Linked DNA regions of Homo sapiens: regions 1, 2, 4, 5 and 6 are each linked to region 3. The links are contacts of gene promoters, found by promoter capture Hi-C in blood cells and fetal thymus (Javierre and others, 2016). All regions are on one chromosome and are shown on one strand. Each heading gives the region's core, a stretch centred on a gene start or on the middle of the fragment in contact. The rest is flanking DNA. Distances are from core to core; before and after follow the strand shown.

What was found. The method cuts DNA at HindIII sites, captures the fragments that hold promoters and counts their contacts. A CHiCAGO score of 5 or more calls a contact.
Region 1: a contact is called between a fragment that was not itself captured here and the fragment with the promoter of UTP14A in region 3, in 12 of 17 cell types (activated CD4 T cells, neutrophils, monocytes and 9 more). The highest score is 8.6, in activated CD4 T cells.
Region 2: a contact is called between a fragment that was not itself captured here and the fragment with the promoter of UTP14A in region 3, in 1 of 17 cell types (activated CD4 T cells). The highest score is 6.5, in activated CD4 T cells.
Region 4: a fragment that was not itself captured here is called in contact with the fragment with the promoter of UTP14A in region 3 in 1 of 17 cell types (activated CD4 T cells); the score reaches 6.2 in activated CD4 T cells.
Region 5: a fragment that was not itself captured here is called in contact with the fragment with the promoter of UTP14A in region 3 in 1 of 17 cell types (activated CD4 T cells); the score reaches 5.3 in activated CD4 T cells.
Region 6: a contact is called between a fragment that was not itself captured here and the fragment with the promoter of UTP14A in region 3, in 2 of 17 cell types (activated CD4 T cells and M2 macrophages). The highest score is 6.4, in activated CD4 T cells.

Annotation. Positions count from the first base shown.
Region 1 is chrX:130,016,504-130,019,203 of GRCh38, forward strand. The region is part of intron 4 of BCORL1 (BCL6 corepressor like 1); the gene reads left to right. Among named protein-coding and RNA genes, the nearest start is that of BCORL1, 35 kb to the left of the region's middle. The HindIII fragment of the contact is 1,633 bases long and covers 504-2,136 here.
Region 2 is chrX:129,990,853-129,993,552 of GRCh38, forward strand. All of the region lies in intron 1 of BCORL1 (BCL6 corepressor like 1), which reads left to right. Among named protein-coding and RNA genes, the nearest start is that of BCORL1, 9.6 kb to the left of the region's middle. The HindIII fragment of the contact is 3,001 bases long and covers 1-2,700 here.
Region 3 is chrX:129,904,762-129,907,461 of GRCh38, forward strand. It overlaps UTP14A (UTP14A small subunit processome component), which reads left to right and starts at 1,403. Exons shown (of 15, transcript NM_006649.4): 1 at 1,403-1,475; 2 at 2,606-2,681. The coding sequence starts at 1,450. LOC105373335 (a long non-coding RNA gene) reads right to left here. Exons shown (of 3, transcript NR_188631.1): 3 at 2,503-2,700. The HindIII fragment of the contact is 20,573 bases long and covers 1-1,835 here.
Region 4 is chrX:129,973,821-129,976,520 of GRCh38, forward strand. No RefSeq gene overlaps it. Among named protein-coding and RNA genes, the nearest start is that of BCORL1, 7.5 kb to the right of the region's middle. The HindIII fragment of the contact is 3,364 bases long and covers 1-2,700 here.
Region 5 is chrX:129,782,971-129,785,670 of GRCh38, forward strand. All of the region lies in intron 1 of SASH3 (SAM and SH3 domain containing 3), which reads left to right. Among named protein-coding and RNA genes, the nearest start is that of SASH3, 4.4 kb to the left of the region's middle. RefSeq lists an enhancer at 2,434-2,523. The HindIII fragment of the contact is 685 bases long and covers 1,092-1,776 here.
Region 6 is chrX:129,799,831-129,802,530 of GRCh38, forward strand. No RefSeq gene overlaps it. Among named protein-coding and RNA genes, the nearest start is that of SASH3, 21 kb to the left of the region's middle. The HindIII fragment of the contact is 2,236 bases long and covers 133-2,368 here.

The DNA.
Region 1 (2,700 bases), core at 70-2,569, 110 kb after region 3:
CGGAAAGCGGAAGAAGGTATTGGTGAGGGAAATCAATGAATAACAGGCTCTTCCTTGAATAACCATTCTTCCTTTTCCTTTACTGAGAGAACACTGGCCTTGAGAACTTAGGGATGGGGAGAGCAGGGGCCTCTGACGGGGTTGTTCCTTTCACCACTGGTTGGGGGGCCTGCTTAGGATTTGCTGGGAGCCTTGTGGGGTCAGAGCCAATTTGGCTTCTGTGCTAATCAGTTTCCTACCCGCTCGAATGCTTGAGGCAGCAGCTTTGGGTTTTGGCCCACTGGGGATTGGATGGGCAAGGCAGGTTGGGTGTCTGGGTGTTGGTCTTGACAGGCTATGGATGGTGGCAGAGTTCTAGGCAAAAAGGTGGGCCAGGAGCACTTGATGAGAATCCCCTGGTCCCCCAGAAGGGACCAGAGGCTACTGGTGATCCAAGGAGAATCTTGAAACATTTGAGGATAGGGTTTATTAAAAATCTAGAACAACTTGAAGTTCTGTTAGCAAGCTTTCAAGTTGGATGTTCATGTACACTAAGGGACAAAATTTCTGGCTAGAGCACTGTGAATTTGGCTGTGGCACAAGTTTATGGTCTTTTTTGGACCATAGACCATTTTGAAAAGCTGGTGAGAGCTATGGACCCTGTTCCCAGAAATGTGACCTCAGAATTTTGCCAATAATTTTAGGGGGTTCATGGACCTGACCTCTGCCCCATCGCCCAAAGCTCACCCAGGGACTGCAGGTTAAGAACCCCTGGGATAGGTGTTTGGGTGGATTTTAACTCACAAACCTCACAACCACCCTGGTATGTCAGAGACACGTGAAGTAGGAACGTGGGTCATGACGCAGTAGAGCATATAACGTTTGGCAGGTAATTGCCATCTGCGCTCGGTGGTAATAAGAATAATAATTCATGTCGTTAGAGTTGTGTTTTTACATTTGTTATCTAATCGTTACAGTAACCATATGAGGTGAATGCTACACCAATCTACAGGTGAGAAAATAAATGAAACAGAGGCTCAGAGAGGATACATTACCCAGTTACACAGCTACTAACTTGCAGAGCTAGAACTCAGACTCTGGTCTCTGGTTCCAAAGTCCATGTTCTTCTTCAGCTATACCATATTATCTTCCACTCTCTTTTTGTTTTTTTTTTTTTGAGTCAGGGTCTTGCTCTGTCACCCGGGCTGGAGTGCAGTGGCTCGATCACAGCTCATTGCAGCCTTCACCTTCTGGGCTCAAGCAGTCTCCCACTTTAGCCTCCCAAGTAGCTGGGACCACAGGTGTGTACCACTACACCTGGCTAATTATTTTTTGTAGAGACGAGGTCTCACTATGTTGGCTAAGCTGGTCTCGGACTCCTGGGCTGAAGCGATCCTCCTGCTTCAGCCTCCCAAAGTGCTGGGATTACAGGCGTGAGCCACCTCACCTGGCCATCTTCTACTCTCCGCCCATGGAACTGTTTCACTGAATGTTTTGCAAGTTTTTGTTGCATGGCTACTGTATGCCAGTCCTTCCCAGGCAATGGGAATACCTCTTCAGGAGGGTGGTATCATAGATTGATGAGGAGTATGCTCCCTGGAGCCAGACACGGAGCCTGGGTTTGAATTTTGGCCCCACCTCTTCCTAGCTGTGTGCTATTAGTCAAGCTACTTAATCTCTATGGCCTTCAGTTTCTTAATCTATACACAAGACAATAATAGTATCTACTCATAGAGTTGTGAAGATTAAATGAGATGATGATATAAAATGTCCACAATAGGCAAATCCATGGAGACAGAAAGTAGACTAGTGGTTGCCTAGGGTTGGGGAGGATGGAAGAGTTGGGGAGTGACTGTTTAATGGGTATTGGGTTTCCATTCAGGGTGATGAAAAAGTTCTGGAGCTAGATAAGTAGGGATGGTTACATAGCTCTATGACTATACTAAAAACAATTGAATTTTACACTTAAGTGAATTGCATGGTATGTCTTAATAAATTGTATCTCAGTAAAGCTGTCATTTTAAAAAAGATTAAAGAACGTGATATACATAAGTGTGTACAGTAGTATCTGGCACATAGTAGGTGTTCAGTTAGTGTTAGTGGTTGCTGTTATTGTTAGCATTACAAACAAAATAGATGTGGCCCCGCCTCTCATGAAGCTTATGTCTCTCAGATGACTCAGTGACAGGTGGGCACTGCCCTATCCTATATTAGATGAACAGTTCAGTGGGCCCACTATCAAATGCAGAGGGCAGAAATTAAAATGACAAGATCAGGGGCCTGGAAGCAGCTCTTTGCAACTGCCTGTAAGGATTTAGTAAATGTCTATTTTTTGGGAGTGCAAATCACTTCGTTCCTTCTTTTTTTTTACATGCCACCTTCCTGAGAAGGAAACTGTTGATCAGCAAACTAAGATCAGGGGTTTGTTTGAAATAGCCCCTTTCAGGGCTTGGCCAAGAGTGAAAATAGTCTCCTGTTGCCAATACCACCTGCCCAAGGCCTCTCAGGATCCTAAAGGGCCTTCTGCATCACCAGCAAAGAGAGAGAGTTCTGCTTCATTTGGTGCTGGATGTATTTTATTGTCCTCTCATTCCTTGGAAAGCTCTTTGGAAAATATTTCAAAACTGTTAACCAGAATGTTCATCTCTCACGGTCTCCCCATCCTCCCAACTTCATGCATAAGTTGGAGTGTGCGAAATATTTTTATTCCTGACCTCAGGT
Region 2 (2,700 bases), core at 117-2,616, 86 kb after region 3:
GGGCCATGGGTGACATTTTTAAAAACCATTGCTTTCTGAAAAGGGCTGTTGTGTTTATTTAATTAATTAATTTATTTGTTTATTTATTGATTGATTTATTTGAAACCGAGCCTCACTCTGTTGCCCAGGTTAGAGTGCAGTGGCGTGATCTCGGCTTACTGCAACCTCCGCCTCCTGGGTTCAAGCGATTCTTCTGCCTCAGCCTCCCGTGTAGCTGGGACTATAGGTGTGAGCCACCATGCCTGGCTAATTTTTGTATTTATATTATTTATTTATTTTTTGAGATAGAGTTTCGTTCTTGTTGCCCAGGCTGGAGTGCAGTGATGCAATCTTGGCTCACTGCAACCTCCTTCTCCTTGTTTCAAGTGATTCTCCTGCCTCAGCCTTCTGAGTAGCTGGGATTATAGGCACCCACCACCACGCCTGGCTGATTTTTGTATTTTTTCTAGTAGAGATGGGGTTTTGCCATGTTGGCCTGGCTGGTCTCGAACTCCTGACCTCAAGTGATCCGGCTGCCTTGGCCTCCCAAAGTGTTGGGATTACAGGTGTGAGCCACTGCGCCTAGTCTATTTATTTATTTTTGAGACAGGGTCTGGCTCTGTTGCCTCAGCCTCCTGAGTAGCTGGGACAGGCCACCATGCCCGGACAATTGTTTTTATTTTTATTTTTAGTAGAGGCAGGGTCTCCCTGTGTTGCCCAGGCTGTTCTTAAACTCCTGAGCTCCAGCATTCCTCCTGTCTTAACTTCCCAAAGTGCTGGGATTACAGGTGTGAGCCACTGTGCCCGGCAGAAAATATTCTTTTTTTTTTTTTTTTTTTTTTTTGAGACAGAGTCTTGCTCTGCTGCCCAGGCTGGAGTGCAGTGGTGCGATCTCGGCTCACTGCAACCTCCATCTCCCGGGTTCAAGCAATTCTCCTGCCTCAGCCTCCTGAGTAGCTGGGATTGCAGGCGCCCGCCACCATGCCCAGCTAATTTTTTTTTTTTTGTATTTTTAGTAGAGACGGGGTTTCACCATGTTGGTCAGGTTGGTCTCGAACCCCTGACCTCGTGATCCATCCACCTCGGCCTCCCAAAGTGCTGGGATTACAGGCGTGAGCCACCGTGCCTGGCGCTTTTTATTTTTATTTTTGTTTCTGAGATGGAGTCTTGCTCTATTGCCCACGCTGAAGTAGAGTGGTGCAAACTCAGCTCACTGCAGCTTCGACCTCCCGAGCTCAAGTGATCTTCCCACTTCATCCTCCCAAGTAGCTAGGACCACAGGCCCATACCACCAGGCACAGCTGATTTTTAAAATAATTTTTGGGCCAGGCACAGTCGTCACGCCTATAATCCCACCACTTTGGGAGGCCGAGGCTAGCAGATCACTTGAGCCTAGGAGTTCAAGACCAGCCTGGGCAATGTAGCGAGACCCTGTCTCTACAAAATAATACAAAAATTACCTGGGCTTGGTGGCGCCAGGTGTGGTGGCATGTGTCTATAGTCCCAGCTACTTGGGAAGCTGAGGTGGGAGGGCCACTTGAGCCCGGGAGTGCCGCTACAGTGAGCTGTGATTGTGCCAGTGCACTTCAGCCCAGGTGACAGAGTTGAGACCCAGTCTTAAAATAACAACAACAAACTCTTTGAGCTAATACTGTTTAATGAAAGCTGTATAGATACACCTTTGAATGAATAATATATATAAAATTAGTTGAACCCATAGCTGAGTCTGTTCTGTTGTGAGAAAATAGAAAGAATAACCTGATAATGGTCTCTCCAAATATTTGTGTTATGTAGTCCAGGAGACTTTTATAAAAGCAAAAGTTGGGTGAGGAAGAATTGTCTTTTTTAAAACCATATATATATATTTAGAGACCGGGTTATGAGACTGGCTAATTTTTGTATTTTTTGTAGAGACGGGGTTTCACCATGTTGCCAAGGCTGGTCTGGAACTCCTGGGCTTAAGTGATCTGTCTGCCTCGGCCTCTCAGTGTTGGGATTACAGGTGTGAGCCAGTGCGCCCAGCTAGGAATTGTCTTTAGGTGAAAAATTGCGTATCATGAATATAGTATACTGAAATGGAGACACCAGAGGGCCACTGTCACAGTCTATGGCAGGCAGGACCCAGAAGCATCTCAAAAGGGATTCAGAATGTCTCATATTACAATGATTCAAGTTTAGAGTGTGAAAAACACACTAAATATTTATATGGTCCTGCTGAAGACCAAGATTGAGGGAAGCCAATTTGTGTTTTTGTTCTAGCGGAAATTAGAAGTACTCAAAAAATGACCCTAGATATTTAGGGTGACATTTTGAGGTTGCTTTGCCTTTTGAAAGGACTGATTAATTTCACAATGATCACTTAAGTTTTGCGTGACATCTAGAAGTTGTATAAAATCTTGTAGCTAGAGCCGAGGTTTATTATAAAGCTATGATGAGGTGTTTTTGTTAAATGGAGTAAAGTAATTTTCTTACAGCAGGAAATGGAAGTGAGTACTGTTTGAATAATAAGAAAAAAGTATCATAGCAATGGGTAGAAAGCAAAAAGAATCTGGCGGTATGAAAATGTAAGTGAGGCCAGGCACGCTGGCTCACGCCTATAATCTCAGCACTTTGGGAGGCAAAGGCAGGAGGACTGCTTGAGGCCAGGAGTTTGAGACCAGCCTAGGCAACATAGGGAGACCCTGACTGTACTGAAAAAAATTTTAAATTAGCCAGGTATGG
Region 3 (2,700 bases), core at 153-2,652:
TATTTAGCAACTTTGGGTGTCGCTGATCTTGTCCAGAGCAATTTCTGTGGAATAATGGGGCAAAAGCAAAATGGGAATGGATTACAAGAATGAAAAGAACGGGCCGGGCGCCGTGGCTCACGCCTGTAATCCTAGCACTTTGGGAGGCCGAGACGGGTGGATCATGAGGTCACGAGATCGAGACCATCCTGGCTAACACGGTGAAACCCCGTCTCTACTTAAAAAAAAAAAAAAAATTAGCCGGGTGTGGTGGCAGGCGCCTGTAGTCCCAGCTACTCAGGAAGCTGAGGCAGGTGAATGGTGTGAACCCGGGAGGCGGAGCTTGCAGTGAGCTGAGATCGCACCACTGCATTCCAGCGTGGGCGACGGAGTGAGACTCCGTCTCAAAAAAAAAAAATGAAAAGAATGTTCTTGTCTATTATTTTTCTACAATCATTAATTAATATATATATATATTAGGCCGGGCCCGGTGGCTCACACCTGTAATCTCAGCACTTTGGGAGGCCGAGGCGGGCAGATCACTTGAGGCCAGGAATTCTAGACCAGCCTGGCCAACGTGGCAAAACCCCGTCTCTACTAAAAATGCAAATATTAGCCGAGCATGGTGGCGGGTGCCTGTAATCCTAGCGACTCGGGAGGCTGAGGCAGGAGAATCGCTTGAACCCGGGAGGTGGAGGTTGCAGTGAGCTGAGATCACGCCATTGCACTCCAGCCTGAACGACACAGCAAGGCTCTGTCTCAAAAATAAATAAATAAAATTCTTAAAAGTTGATGGGAGAAAAAAAGTTGTTTAAAAAAATTTTTTTAAGTTGATGGGAGGTGAGGAAGCGTAGTTACTGATGGCCCCTTCTTGGATAAAAAAAATCTTTTGACTCAGGAAATGAAGAACAAAGCTGCAATTACAAGGGATCAAAGGCGATTTTTCCTTAAATGGAAGGAAACTTGTTATGTTCACCATCGGATCTCCGGGGCCCGGCACAATCTGGCCACTTAATAGGCATTCAATAAACCCCCGAGCTGGCTTGTGGTCGGCTTGCAGGACGCCGTCGCACAAGGACGGGCGCTGTAGTCTTTCCTTCTGGATTCTGCAGTGACGAATGAAGGCGCGGGCTCAGCCCCTGAGAGCGCAGCACCGTCGCCCTAAGCTAACCCACCTTGGGCCACGTGGAAACCAGGGGCCAGGAGGACAGACACCCGCGCGCCAGAGAAATACGGGGTGGGTGGAGAAAGGAATGCCCCACCCGCTGACAGCCGTTTCATCTCAGGCCTCCCAGTTTTCTGCAGGCCCCTCCCTACACGGCTCCTGCTTCTCTCACGCCTCGTACGGAACGGAAGTGACGTGTACGTCGCGAGCGATTGACGGAAACAGAAATTGCTTTGCGGCCCGCACGGAAATTGCTTTCCTTCGGCTTCCGTTCTTGGTCCATGTGAGAGAAGCTGGCTGCTGAAATGACTGCGAACCGGCTTGCAGAGAGGTGAAGGGCAACGAGGGGAGGGGGGATTCTGGGTCTCGTTGGGGGCCGGGTTCCCCAGCTTTTGGGAAATGGGAGCCCCCCCTTTAACAGATGGCAGTGGTTCCCCTGAAGAGCTGGCCATTCGTTCCTATTTTCCGCGATCCAGCCTTTAAAGCCCTTTTAATTTAATTTCATTCGCTTACTCCGCTCCTCAGCTGTATAGCCGCATCCCTGTTGGTCCTGATGCTGTTTCTGCCTCCCCAGCTCATTTACTGTGTTTCACATTTTTCGTCACGTGGCCCCTTTTTCTGCCTCTGTCGCGGCCCGATTTAATCCTCTGCGCAGGCAGTGCAGGCGTTATAAACTCCCCGAATCTTGGAAAGCTTTGCTGATTGGAGTCATCCACCACGTTTTGGCTCCTGTGATGTTTTGTGCCCCCCCCACCCCGCCCCCGGAACTAAATGTAGTCCGTTTAGTAATGTTGGCTTTGCAAATACTAATAATATATGCTGTTAGGTAATGGTACATTTTATAATTTGTTTGTGGGTACCAATCTCCTTAGTTAAGCACCTACTTTACTAAGCAAGCCCCAGGGAAAGTGGCTTACCCAGCTGCTTTCGACCTGTTTCTCCATTCCTGGGAACAAGGATCAAGATAACACTTTTGATTAGGCTGCCTATCAATGAGTCAAATATATGGAGGATGCTTAGAAATATTAATCGTGAAACTGCCTTGCCTCCAGGGCTAGCTAGCAACAGCGTCTTTGGCCATATTATTCTAGGGTCTGACATTTTTACAGCTTCCCATAGGTCATAGGAAATGTTGTGCCAATCCCTGAAAAGTGATAGCTCTTTTACATGCAGTTTTGAAGTCAGGCATCACTCTTGGAGGTGATGCCTGACTTCAGTCTAAATTTCACATCTTGACAAGTTTCCAAAGGCATTCACGCTGCTTTATATATCTTCTGAGGGATAGGGCTATTCTGTGCTGAAATTACAATGTTTTCGAGATTGTTTTAATAGATTAGACATTGCTTCAAATAATAATATTTCTTTTTTTAATTTCGACTTTTATTATAATTAAGGGATACATATGCAGGTTTGTTACATGGGTATATTGCATTCACATTTCTCTGTTGCCTCTTTTAACAGCCTTCTGGCTTTGAGCCAACAGGAAGAACTAGCGGATTTGCCAAAAGACTACCTCTTGAGTGAGAGTGAAGATGAGGTGGGTGACAATTGCTAAA
Region 4 (2,700 bases), core at 74-2,573, 69 kb after region 3:
TAGGCTTAAATGAAGCAGGCGCTCTCAAGTTCTGAACTTTAAAAATTCCTTATTTTTTTAAACTACTATGGAGCATCTACTGGGTGCCAGGCACTGTTCTAAGTGCTTAACATACAAGAACTCATGTGATCTTTATAACGTTTGCTTCTTCTTCTTCTTTTTTATATACAGAGATGAGTTTCACCATATTGCCCAGGCTGATCTTGAACTCCTGACTTCAACTGTTCCCCCCGCCTTGGCCACACAAAGCATTGGGATTACGGGCTTCAGCCACCGCGCCTGGCCCTTATAACGTTTTCAGGAGGTACTTATTAGCCCCCATTTCACAAATGAGGGAATTGAGGCTCAGAGAAAAGTATGCAAGGCAATAGCGCTAGGAAGTGGTGGAGCCAGTATTCAAACCATGTCTGTCTAACTTCAGAGATTGTGTGCTTAATCACTGAGTGGGAAGAGAAAGACTAAAAGAGACCCAGACTTTAAAATGAGTCTTTGGCAAGAAGGGAAGTCAAGTCTGGGCCTCAGCTTCTCCACTGTAAAACAAGTCCTACTATGTGCCAAGGTGGGAGGTCTTGGGGGGAGATGAAGGAGGCTGTGATACACAGATGAGAAATACTGAGTCCTTTTATCCAAGGAACTTAAAATCTAGTCGGAGAGATAGACAGGCAGAGTGTGGAAGTGCTAACTAAAGGGACAAGCTAAAAACTGTGGGGGTGCCCCAGAGGAGCAGCCAACTTCCATAGGGAGGGTGTGGGTGTCAGGGAAAGGGGCATGAGAGAATGGTCTTTTGTTTGTTTGTTTGTTGTTTGTTGTTTGAGACAGAGTCTTGCTCTGTCGCCCAGGCTGGAGTGCAGTGGCAAGATCTCAGCTCACTGCAGCCTCTGCCTCCCAGGTTCAAGCAATTCTCCTGCCTCAGCCTCCCAAGTAGCTGGGATTACAGGCGTGTGCCATTACACCTGGCTAAGTTTGGTATTTTAAGTAGAGACGGGGTTTTGCCATGTTGCCCAGGCTGGTCTCGAACTCCTGACCTCAAGTGACCCACCCACCTTGGTCTCCCAAAGTGCTGGGATTACAGGCGTGAGCCGCCACACCCAGATGAGAGAGCTGTCTTGAGTAACGGTTGAGTGAGATTTCAATAAGCTGAGAAAGACATATAAAAAGCTGTGGGAGGGGGCAGGTGGGAGGGGCCAGGTGCGATGGCTCACGCCTATAATCCCAGCACTTTGAGAAGCCAAGGTGGGTGGATCATGTGAAATCAGGAGTTCGAGACCAACCTGGCCAACATGGTGAAACCCTGTCTCTACTAAAAATACAAAAATTAGCTGGGTGTGGTGGCACGTGCCTGTAATCCCAGCTACTAGGGAGGCTGAGGCAGGAGAATCGCTTGAACCCAGGAGAAGGAGGTTGCAGTGAGCCAAGATCACGCCATTGCATTCCAGGCTGGGCGACAAGAGCAAAACTCCATCTCAAAAAAAAGCAAGCAAACAAACAAACAAAAAAACCTGTGGGAGGCCACTATGGTGGCTCACACCTGTAATCTCAGCACTTTAGGAGGCGAAGAGGGAAGGATCACTTGAGGCTAGGAGTTCAAGACCAGCCTGGGCAACACAACGAGAACTCAAGAACTCATTTGTGCAATTTTTTTTTTTGAACAAAGTTTTGCTCTCTTTGCCCAGGCTGGAGCACAATGGCGTGATCTTGGCTCACTGCAACCTCCACCTCCTGAGTTCAAGCGATTCTCCTGCCTCAGCCTCCTGAGTAGCTGGGATTACAGGCACCTGCCACCATGCCTGGCTAATATTTGTATATTTAGTAGAGATGGGGTTTCACCATGTTGACCAGGCTGGTCTTGAACTTCTGACCTCAGGTGATCCACCCGCCTTGGCCTCCCAATGTGCTGGGATTACAGGTGTGAGCCACCACGCCCAGCCTCATCTGTACAATTTTTTTAAGTGTTTAAAAAAAAAAAAAAGCTGAGGAAGCAGAGCTGACAAAATGGATGGCTTATCCAAGGAATGCCGAGGGGGCCAGTCAGGTCAGAAAAGAGGGCTTGTGAGAGACATGGAAGGAAAGGAGGCTAGAACTAGATCAGGGAGGGCCCTAAAGGCTAGGTGAAGGCTCATGGACTTGATTTTGTTGGCAGTGGCCAACCATAGCCAGTTTTTCAGGAGGGCAGATTTCTTAGAATCCCTTCCACTTCTAGCACTGCATGTTTGATTAAGAACTTTGTTGGCTGGGCGCGGTGGCTCACACACCTATAATCCCAGCATTTTGGAAGGCCAAGGCTGGAGGATCACTTGAGCCCAGGAGTTCCAGACCAGCCTAGGCAACATTGCAAGACCACGCCACCACCACCCCCTCTAATGTTAAAAAAAATAATAATTTTTAAGAAAGAACTTTGTTTAGAGCCTAGGAGTCTCAGGGAAGAGGAGAGTGGTCAGCAAGCTGAAGGGCTTGACCCGGTGAGGCCTCTGGGTTGATTTCAGCCCCTTTCCTCATTTTCACTCCTTTGGCTATAAAATCCAAAAAAGTTGTTGGTTGTTTACAGAGTTCAGTTTAACCGGACATGCTGTCTCCCCATCCACACCTGGGGCTCTAAGAGGGCAGAGACCAGGCCATTTGTTCTCTGGGAGCCAGCACTTAGTATCCAGTACTCTGTAGGCAGCTGGAATGTATCTACCTTAGCAACCCTTCTTGCAAAAA
Region 5 (2,700 bases), core at 184-2,683, 120 kb before region 3:
GGAAGTGGAGAGGGATTTTTCCTGGACTTGGTTCCCCTAAGGATGCTCCTACTCTACCACATCCCCACTTTCTCCATGGCTCCCTTCCTACAGCACACCTCTAGTATGACCCCCACACCCTGCCAGCATGCACTTTGTATTTTCAGTGGCTCCTCACTGCCCACAGGATACATGCCCTTGGCCTGGCGGGCAAGAGCCTTCCATAGCCTTTTCTACTCCCCCACCCACCATCCCATCATCAGGCTCTCAACGTCTCTAACTTTCATTCTTGTTCAAACCCTTCCGAGCTCCACCTGGAGAAATCCTGCCTCCCCTGCATGGCCCAGCTCAGATATACCTCCTCCACAAAGCCCCGCCAGAGCCCTTCCCCCTCTGCACTCCCACCTGCTTTCCTAGGAGCTCTGTTCAAAAACCACCTGCATGCCATCACCACTACACTCAATCCACTGCTAACTTCTACACTGGTGGGGCGGGGCAACAGCATGAGCTCTGAGGTAGCACGAGCACAGCAACATACTTGGGTTTCCAGAGTCATAGACCTGGGTTTGGAGGCTTGCTCTTCCTAAGACCAGCTGCGCCACCCTGCCTAGGGCACTTCATTTCGCATCTTGGTCTCCTCTGCTTCGAGGTGCGAATATGATGCGGGGCTGCGATGAGGCTGGAGTGAGCTGGCACACAGGAAGTGCTTGGCAGGACACGGGCATGCGGGAGGAGTTTAGACCCTCATTGCTGGATTCTCACACACACAGAGGTAGGGCCTAGAGCTCACAGGGTGCTCAGTATATGCCTGATACCCTGAAGGAGCAGAGGGGGTAGCTCAGGAGACCACTGGGGAAAGCCAAGTTTGCTCAGGAAGTAAGGGAAGAGGATGCTGGCTGGGGCAGTGTGGACCTCTGAGAGATTGATCAGGGCATGGTTTCTGCATGGATGCTGCCTTTTAAGCTGGAATTGAAAAATCTTTCCATAGAAGTATAATATCCATACAGAGAAGTGGATAAATCATAATTGCGCCACCGAATGAGTTTCTATAATGTGAACATCCCCATGTAGACAGCACTTAGATCAAGAAACAACACTCTCAGAAGTCTAGAAGCTTCCCTCATGCCCCTGCCAGTTACTACACCCCCCCCTTCCCCCAGGGCAACCGCTATCCTGACTTCCAACAGCACAGGTGAGCTCTGCCAGGCTTTGAACTTACAGGGGGAACCATATCGTGTATATATACTCTTTGGTGGCCAGCCCCTTTACTCAACCATATGTTTGTGACACTCATCCATACTGTTGGGAACAGTTGTACTGTCTCCTACCTGGGTACTATTCTTTTGTGTGACTCTGCCACAATTAATTTATCCATTCTACAGATGATGGGCATTTGCGGGTTTTCCACTTAAATTGGAAGGGTGAGAAACTACGGCTGACAGAGAGAAGGGCAGAGTATTCCAGGTGGGGAAATGCCCAGGGTAAGAGGCTGGAGGTGGGGTGTAGGAAAGAGTAAGCATAAACCTACATTCCACAAGGGACTGCCGTGTCAGACAATGTTCCAAGCACTGTAGGCGTACTCGCTCATTTCATCCTCACAACAGCCAGATGAGGTCGGTGCTTTTGTCTTCATTCCACTAATGAGGAAACAGAAACCTAGAGAAGTTAAGAAACATACCCAGTTTACACAATCAGTGGCAGAACCAAGATGGGAACACTTGCCCTGATGTGAAGTGGGCTTCAGAGAGGTTCGATAACTTGCCGGAGGTCACAAATCCAGAGTTGAACTTCTGAGAAAGCTTCCCTCATGCCCCTGCCTGTCACTACATGCCCCCTTTCTCCCACAGTAACCACTATCCTGACTTACAATAGCATAGGTGAGTTCTGCCAGGCTTTGAACTATAATTATACAGGGGGAACCATATGGTGTATATATACTCTTTGGTGGCCCTACATTTCAAATGTATTGTATATTACATTTGAAATATATATTGAAATATATATTGTTGAGTATACTCAATGTATATTTCAAATGTAATATACAATACAATACATATATACAATACAATACATATATACTCAACAATATATATTTCAATATATATTTCAAATGTAATATACAATACATATATACTCAACAATATATTTAGTATATTTCAAATGTAATATACATTTGAAATGTAGCTCTTTCCAAGAGGCCCACACATTCCCCTGAGCCATGAAGTGAAAAGGGGGCCAACAGTGTATGGTACCACCTCCCCCGTCAGGCACGACTCCCAGGAAGTCCTCACTCCAAAGGGAAGCCAGCAGAAAAGCCAGCCAGGCTCAAGAATTTCAACTCAACCCTGAATGGGGGTCACCTCTCTCTGAAAGGCGGTCAAGATACTTGGGGCTGTCCCTGAGGTTGGAGGTAGGCTTGGCAAAATGCCACCCTGGAGGGCCCTGAAACTCGATCACCCAAAGAACATGTGTTTGTCCTTTCCATCTCCCTGGGCTGAGAGTAGCCAACTGGGCCCAAGACCCAGCACCATCTCTATAGTCCTTTGTGATTATCTCCTCCCACTTTGGACTAAAACTGAGACAGAGGGACCCTCGCACAAGGGTCTGGGAGCCAAAGGCCTTTCCTCCCAGCCCCCAGACTGCAGATTAATGACAGGAAAAGGCCTTGGGAAAGAGCTGCAATTAGAGGGCAGGCAGGCAGTGAATTTACTCTTCCCCAAC
Region 6 (2,700 bases), core at 1-2,500, 110 kb before region 3:
CAAATGGCAAATAATCCTAAAAATCATTGCTGTTTCTCAACTTACGAGGGTTGGTACTGCAATTTCTCCTAAAGTTAACCCTAGCATGCAGTCAATCTTCAACAAGTATTTATTGAATGTTAAATAAATGAAAGCTTCATTTCATTCAAGTGTCATTTGCAGTTATTCTAACTCTTTTATCCATCTACACCTGCTTGACAGAGGACCAGTCGGTTATGCCAGAAAGCTCTCTAGACTGGGAGCCAGTACATCTGGGTTCTGGTCTTGGCTCTGACAGTAACTCTCTATGTGACCCTAAGTTACAGTATTTAATTTGAGGGAGAAAGAGAGAGAGAGAGAGAAGCATAGACTACATGATCAATATGTTCCTTTAAGCTATGTCGTTCAACAGAATCTGTGTTTTATGACGAATAATCATCATGTCTCGTATTTGGGCAGAAAACCCCAACCCTTTTAACCAAGTTGGAACAGCTAAACAGCTGGAGATGGGCAGGGGCTGGCAGAAAAAGCAGTGAGAAGGCAAGTGGGGGAGTGAAGAAAGTGAAGGGCTTGGAATGTCAGGGAGGTAATTCTACTCTAGATTCTAAAGTTGTAAAGCCACTTCTAAATCAAGGGCCCCTTCATTTCCTGGCCCGTGGTGAAGTGTGAGCTCTAAGTTCTAATTTATTAATCAATCAGAAAACCCCTTAATGCCTGAAGAAAAATAGACAAAAGATTAGGACAGACAATTTACAGAAGAAATACAAATGGTAATAAACATAAGGCAGAGGAGAGGTGCAGAAAGTGTTTAACTTCACTATTAATCAAATAAATATAAACTAACACTGAGATATAAGTTTACAACTATCAAATTACCATAGGTTTAGGTCGGGCACGGTGGCTCACGCCTGTAATCCCAGCACTTTGGGAGGCCGAGGCGGGCAGATCACTTGAAGTCAGGAGTTGGAGACCAGCCTGGCTGACATGGCAAAACCCCGTCTCCAATAAAAATATAAAAATTAGCCAGGTGTGGTGGCGCACACCTGTAGTCCCAGCTAATGAGGAGGCTGAGGCAGGAGAATCACTTGAACCCGGGAGGGAGAGAATGCAGTGAGCCAAGATCGTGCCACTGCACTCCAGCCTGGATGACAAAGCGAGACTCTGTCTCAAAAAAGCTAAAATAAAAATTCGAAAGGTTTAAATGACATGGGTTGATTAGAGTCTTCTCTGATACACTGCTGGCAAAACAAACAGGGACGGCCTTTCAATAAAGCAATTTGGCCACATTTATCAAGAGCCTTTAAAAGAGCATTCCCTTTGACTCAATAATTCCACTTCTAGGAATCTATCCTAAAGAAATACTCACAGACACACCCATATTTAAGGAAGTTCATCACAGCATTATTTGTAATAATGAAAAATTAGAAACTCTTAAATGCCTGACATGTACACATTACAAAGTCATTAAGAAGTATTTTTGAGCCAGGCGCGGTGGCTCACGCCTGTAATCCCAGCACTTTGGGAGTCCGAGGCAGGTGGATCATGAGGTCAGGAGATCGAGACCATCCTGGCTAACACAGTGAAACCCCATCTCTACTAAAAATACAAAAAATTAGCCGGGCGTGGTGGCAGGCGCCTGTAGTCCCAGCTACTCGGGAGGCTGAGGCAGGAGAATGGCATAAACCCGGGAGGCGGAGCTTGCGGTGAGCCGAGATCGCACCACTGCACTCCAGCCTGGGCGACAGAGCAAGACTCCGTCTCCAAAAAAAAAAAAAAAGAAGTATTTTCGGCTCGGAGTAGTGGCTCATGCCTGTAATCCCAACACTTTGGGATGCCGAGGCAAGTGGATTGCTTGAAGTGCGGAGTTTGAGACCAGCCTGGCAAAATGGCGAAACCCAGTCTCTACAAAAAAATACAAAAAATTAGCCAACTTTGGTGGCATGTGCCTGTAGACCCAGCTACTTGGGAGGCTGAGGCAGGAGGACTGCTTGAGCCTGGGAGGCGGATGTTGCAGTGGGCTGAAATCACGCCACTGCACTTCAGCATGGGTGACAGAGTGAAACCCTGTCTCCAAAAAAAAAAAAAAAAGTATTTTCAAATAATTTCTAATGATATGGAAAATACTAAGTTAAAAAAGCAGGTTTACAAAACTACATTTATAGTCTAATTCCAGTTATGTTTAAAAAAAACATGTGCACAGAAAAAAAGACTACCAAGAAATGCACCAAAACATTAATTAATGGTGATTATTACATCTTGGTGATGAGGTTATGGGTGATTTTTTCAAATCTTACTATTCTGTACTTCTCCAATTTTCAAAAATGAGCTTTAAATTTTTAAAAAAGCACATTAAGGGTGTGAGGGGAGGAGGATGTTTATTTTCTCTCCAAGCTTTCCAAATATTAAGGGTTAGAAAGGGACCCTTGAGATAATCTAGTCCAGTGGTCCTCAAAACTAGCAGCCCTAGCACTCCCTTGGTATATGTCATATTTTGAATGCATCTTTTGCCACCCTGAAATGAACTTTATAGTTAATATGACCTGCTTATGTACATAATTTCAAGAATAGTAATATAATATACTAATTAGACTATAAAATCACTGTGCAAGCAATCTCTATAAATGAAGACTCATACAAGTATGTTATATTGGCAACTTAAATACCCATGAATGGCACTGTCGTCAGTGACATGATTTTCAAAAGTTGTGAGCAACTCTTAGT